Regions from separate parts of the Homo sapiens genome. Here region 1 is linked to region 2. The links are contacts of gene promoters, found by promoter capture Hi-C in blood cells and fetal thymus (Javierre and others, 2016). All regions are on one chromosome and are shown on one strand. Each heading gives the region's core, a stretch centred on a gene start or on the middle of the fragment in contact. The rest is flanking DNA. Distances are from core to core; before and after follow the strand shown. Region 1 overlaps SMURF1 (SMAD specific E3 ubiquitin protein ligase 1). Region 2 holds the start of ARPC1A (actin related protein 2/3 complex subunit 1A).

What was found. The method cuts DNA at HindIII sites, captures the fragments that hold promoters and counts their contacts. A CHiCAGO score of 5 or more calls a contact.
Region 1: a fragment that was not itself captured here is called in contact with the fragment with the promoter of ARPC1A in region 2 in 14 of 17 cell types (M2 macrophages, megakaryocytes, endothelial precursors and 11 more); the score reaches 14.7 in M2 macrophages.

The regions. Positions count from the first base shown.
Region 1 is chr7:99,058,109-99,060,941 of GRCh38, forward strand. SMURF1 (SMAD specific E3 ubiquitin protein ligase 1) reads right to left here. Exons shown (of 18, transcript NM_181349.3): 3 at 2,491-2,599. Among named protein-coding and RNA genes, the nearest start is that of SMURF1, 85 kb to the right of the region's middle. The HindIII fragment of the contact is 4,291 bases long and covers 1-2,833 here.
Region 2 is chr7:99,324,591-99,327,408 of GRCh38, forward strand. It overlaps ARPC1A (actin related protein 2/3 complex subunit 1A), which reads left to right and starts at 1,308. Exons shown (of 10, transcript NM_006409.4): 1 at 1,308-1,414. LOC105375421 (a long non-coding RNA gene) reads right to left here and starts at 1,218. Exons shown (of 4, transcript XR_927798.3): 1 at 924-1,218. RefSeq lists an enhancer at 874-1,433 and a silencer at 1,409-1,588. The HindIII fragment of the contact is 5,893 bases long and covers 1-2,818 here.

The sequences.
Region 1 (2,833 bases), core at 158-2,657, 270 kb before region 2:
ACTATATTTTATTTATTTTTATTTATTTTTTTATTTTTTTGAGACGGAATTTTGCTCTTGTCGCCCAGGCCGGAGTGCAATGGCGCAGTGTTAGCTCACTGCAACCTGTCTCCTGGGTTCAAGGAATTCTCCTGCCTCAGCCTCCCCAGCAGCTGAGATTACAGGCACCTGCCACCACACCTGGCTAATTTTTGTATTTTTAGTAGAGACGGGGTTTCACCATGTTGGCCAGGCTGGTCTCAACCTCCTGACCTCAGGTGATCTTCCTGCCTCGGCCTCCCAAAGTGCTTAGATTACAGGTGTGAGCCACTGCACCCAGCAAATTTACTATATTTTAATAGTCGCATAGGACAGTAACATGATTCATAAATTCTCACCAATTAGGTTTGATACAGAATACTGGTTTGCGACAAGGGACTACTTACAAACCTACGGATCTATTCAAAGTACACAAGAGGACACTAAGACATTAAACCTCCATTTACTGTCACTGCAAGTCAACGGAGAGAGGAACTCAACCCACTTACACAGCCTCAGTGTCACTGAAACTGAATCTTAGAATATAATTCTTAAAAATCCCACCCAAATACAGTATAATTTGTATTAACTAAAAGACAATAATCTTTCAGGATTACTTTGATGAAAATATCTTAGTAGGAACATGAAAACATGGGTGCATATAAAATAGTGGTCTTCACAGCCAGGTGCAGTGGCTCACGCCTATAATCCCAGCACTTCAGGAGGCCAAGGTGGATCACCTGAGGTCAGAAGGTCAAGACCAGCCTGGCCAACATGGTGAAACCCATCTCTACTAAAAATATAAAAATTAGCCAGGCATGGTGGCGGGTACCTGTAATCCCAGCTACTCGGGAGGCTGAAGATCGAGAATCGCTTGAACCCAGCAGGAGGAGGTTGCGGTGAGCCAAGATTGCGCCACTGCGCTCCAGCCTGGGCAACAGAGCGAGACTCTGTTTGAAAAAAAAATTTAATTTAATTTAAAAATAAAATAGGCCGGGCGCGGTGGCTCACGCCTGTAATCCCAGCACTTTGGGAGGCCGAGGCGGGCGGATCACGAGGTCAGGAGATCGAGACCATCCCGGCTAAAACGGTGAAACCCCGTCTCTACTAAAACTACAAAAAATAGCCGGGCGTAGTGGCGGGCGCCTGTAGTCCTAGCTACTTGGGAGGCTGAGGCAGGAGAATGGCGTGAACCCGGGAGGCGGAGCTTGCAGTGAGCCGAGATCCCGCCACTGCACTCCAGCCTGGGCGACAGAGCAAGACTCCATCTCAAAAAAAAATAAAATAAAATAAAATAAAATAAAATAAAATAAAATAAAATAAAATAAAATAAAATAAAATAGTGGTCTTCAAAGTACAATCCAGTTTTTGAATGACTATAAGAAATTGATGGCTTTGATCATATAAAACTATATTTTCTCTTGCAGAAAATATATATGTACTAAAAAGCAAAAATTTTCAAAGTCAACAGAAACATACAGTCATAATAATGAATTTTTTAGGCCTGGTACAGTGGCTCACGCCTGTAATCCCAGAACTTTGGGAGGCTGAGGCGGGTGGATCATGAGGTCAGGAGTTCGAGACCAGCCTGGCCAAGATGGTGAAACCCCGTCTCAACTAAAAATACAAAAATTAGTTGGGCATGCTGGCGGATGCCTGTAATTCCAGCTACTTGGGAGGCTGAGGCAGGAGAATCACTTGAATCCAGGAGGTGGAGGTCACAGTGAGCCGAGATCGCGCCACTGCACACTCTAGCCTGGGCGACAAAGCAAGACTCCATCTCAAAAAAAAAAAAAATGCATTTTTTAGGTAGAAACTACAACTAGGTTTAGGGTTTTGCTGAAAAACAGTAGCATGTGGAGTTCACAAACTATGGCCTTTTTTTCTGCTAAAATGGCCAGGAGATTGAAAAGTTTGAGGATCACATGTACAAAACCAAACCATAAAAATCTATGAACATGCCAAATGCAGTCGGGCGCAGTGGCTCACGCCTGTAATCCCAACACTTTGGGAGGCTAAGGTGGGCAGATCACTTGAGGTCAGGAGTTCAAGACCAGCCTGGCCAACATGGTGAAACCCCATCTCTACTAAAAAATACAAAAATTAGCTGGGCATGGTGGCATATGTCCATAATCCCAGCTACTTGGGAGGCTGAGGTAGGAGAATCACTTGTACCCGGGAGGCGGAGGTTGCAGTGAGCTGAGATCACGCCACCGCACTCCAGCCTGGGTGACAGAGTGAGACTCCGTCTCAAAAAAAAAAAAAAAAAAAGAAAAAAGAAAGTAACAAAATGCAAGAACTTCCAAGTACATGAATTCTAAAATTAGGCAATGTAGACATTCATTTGGCCATCCGCTTTTGTTATCAATAAAAAGTCATCCTTTTTTTTTTTTTCTCTTGGATGTTTCTCGTAAAAGGTAGACACCTGCTTTCCTGCCGCTCCGCATGGGGCTTACAGAACATTCAACTCACAGATCATAGTGCTGGTTCCACTTTGGGTCCAATGTGTTTTTCACAGTGTCGGTTGAGTGGCACTGCCCAGACCCATCCACGACAATCTTTGCAAAAGGGTCAGGGAGCCCTAGAGGAGAGAGGAGACCCACACCTAGATGAGACCTCACATCCATCCATGTGACACAGAACACACAATTCGTGTTCTCTAATTTCAGGATAATTTCAATCAGCAAAATAAGTTATGTCTATTGAGCTTTCTAAGAGAGCCTAGTATGCCTCCATACTCAGATTTTTAGAGGGTAGAAAAGAAAGTGACTGAAAAAAAAAAAGGCTTACATTCAAATTTCTATTAAAGTGGGGC
Region 2 (2,818 bases), core at 58-2,557:
GCCACTGCACTCCAGCTTGGGCGACAGAGAAAGGCTCCGTCTCAAAAAGATCACAGCGGGTCTGAAATTGAGAGTTTGACAAGTATACCTACATAAACCTCACCTTACAATACCAAAGGGAAGGAGACAAGCCCTTGGTTGGCCTGGCATGGCGCTGGGCGGCGGCGGGGGGGAGCTCACATCGCTTTGGGAAGCAGAGGCTAGAGGATTGCTTGAGCCCAGGGGTTCAAGACCAGCCTGGACAACATAGGAAAACCTCATCTTTACAAAAAATATAAAAATTAGCCAGGCACAGTGGCTCACACCTGTAATCTGAGGGCTTTGAGAGGCCAAAGAGGGACGATCGCTTGAGCCCAGGAGTTCAAGACCAGCCTAAGCAACACAGCAAGACCCTGTCTCTACCAAAAAATAAAAATTAGCCAGGCGTGGTGGTGTGCACTTGTAGTCCCAGCTCCACGGGGGGCTGAGGCGGGAGGATCGCTTGAGCCCAGGGGTTCCAGGCTGCAGTTAGCTATGATCGCGCCACTGCACTCCAGCCTGGGCTACAGGTTGAGAACCTGTCTAAAAAAAAAGAAAAAAGAAAAGCTCTCGATTAGCCCCATCTGTGGGGGCTGGGGATGCTCCAGAATTTCTAGGGTTCAAGGGCAGCAGCCTGATTGCAGGTGGGGATCAGGGCATTTCTTGGAGGCTGCATCTGCGGGGCAGGCTCTGTCCTCTGTGAATTGGGGGCCTTGCCAAGTTCCCCCAACCCTTTTATCCCTGCTGCGCCATCTTGGGAGCAGGGAACTGCTTGGGAGCAGGGGATTCTGTCCCAGGAAGGGTCGAGAAAGTTCCTGGGGGGCTTCAGGGGCTTTCCACAGAGGGAGCACGGCGGGGGCGGAGGCTCCCTGCAGGGAGCAGCGCTGAGGTAGACTGGCTCTGACCTTGGCTCTCTGAAGGGAGAAAAACTTAATCGTTCTTCAGGTCCAAGAGCTCCAAAGACCCCCAATCCTCAGTAACTCATCTCCTGACAAAAGACCTTGCGAAACTGCCAAAGCGCCACACTTCGGCTCGCGATTGTGAGGAAATTGGTTGAGGAACGGAGTGGGACGCCCATGCCGCTTCGCCAGCACTTGCCAGGCGTTCCGTGGGGCAGCATCTCCTCTGAAGGGCCGCCGACAGTACCACGCCAATGGAACGGCGTACCCTCCTCCACTGCAGCCTGCCTAACCCCGGACTGCGCGCCCGAGCTGTGCGCATGCGCGGACCGTCCGCGCGGTCGCAACGCGCAGGCGCCGTGTCCACTTCCGGGATCTGTCAGCCGCTCCCTCTGGGCTTCCGTCCTCCGCCCGCGCCCGACGGAGCCTGTTCGCGTCGACTGCCCAGAGTCCGCGAATCCTCCGCTCCGAGCCCGTCCGGACTCCCCCGATCCCAGGTAACGGCCAGCAGGGGCGAGCGTCTCACCCTGTCGGCCTCTCTTGTCCAGGCCTGGCGCCGGACTTGCCGCGGGGGCAGTGAGACGGGGGCTCAGGCCGCGGGGCCCCGAGGCTGAGGCGCGGCCGGGTCTCCCTGCCGGGGCCTCCTGAGGGGGCGGGGATCCCCTTTCTCCGTGGATCCCCTGCAGCTTTTCTCAGGATGTTCGAGCTCCTAGCCGCCTCCGATGCCCGAATTAACGGCCCCTTCTGCGCCCCCAGGGTCCTACTTGCACCTCTGCTGGGGGCATTTGTCACCGTCTCTAAAATTGTGTCAAGTAGGAGGATCTCCCGTAATCGAGCGACCCGCGGGACTATTCATCTCTTTAGTGTCTAGAGTCGATCCCTGCATACAGTAGGCGCCCATAGGATGTTTGCCTGCTCTCTAGGGCAGCCCTCAATCCTTCGGTTAATGGGGAACCTTCTCGATCTCGAGAAAAACCTTCTCCCGAGTTCTTTTAAGATTTCCCTGCATGAGTACCGCCTTCCCCCAAGTCAAAATTGCACCCTTCTCGGCGCTCTTATTCATTTAGTGGAATCTTTTATGCCAGTCCTGGCACCACCACTTTGTTGAGTGATCCTGGGAAGATGCTTCTCTGCGCCTGTTTCCTCATCTGCAATAAAAAGATTCTTACCGTTTTGCTAAGAATCAAGTGAGCTTATTTGCATAAATTGCTTAGAATAGTTCCTGGCCGAGAGTAGGTGATCAATAAATATTAGCTATTATTACTGCTTCTGGGCATTCTATGCATATCCGTCTTCCTTTCCTTTTCTATCTCCTCCACTCTCCCCAAACACCAACCCTCCAGACTTGAAGACCAGAATGGTGTCAGCCTTATTTATGTTTCTAGCCCCATCCCGGTATTTACAACACTGCTGGGAACATGATAGGCACTTAATCAGTTATAGCTTAGAATCTTTGATTATAAAGCCATCTGTTCTCCTGCAGCTTTGGAACCTTCTGTCTATGTCAACTCGTAGCTTAAATTGCCGAGATTATCTTAGTTCTGCCCTCTCTCCTCAATTTTATCTAGTCTTGTGGTTTCACATAGGGCCTGGGTTTTCAGGTATCTAAAAACAGAGGAGGGGCATCAGTCAGGAAGGTGTTTTTGTCCTGTTAGGGAGTGGGTAACTGTGGTTGTTGTCTTCCTTTTTTTTTTTTTTCCTGCAGCCTCGACCTCCTGGGCTTAACAGATCCTCCCACCTCAGCCTCCTGAGTAGCTGGGACTACAGGCGTGTGCCACCACACTGGGCTAATTTTCATTTATTTTTATTTACTTATTTTTGGAGATAGAGTCTCACTCTGTCACCCAGACTGGAGTGCAGTGGTGTGATCTTGGCTCACTGCAACCTCCACCTCCTGGGTT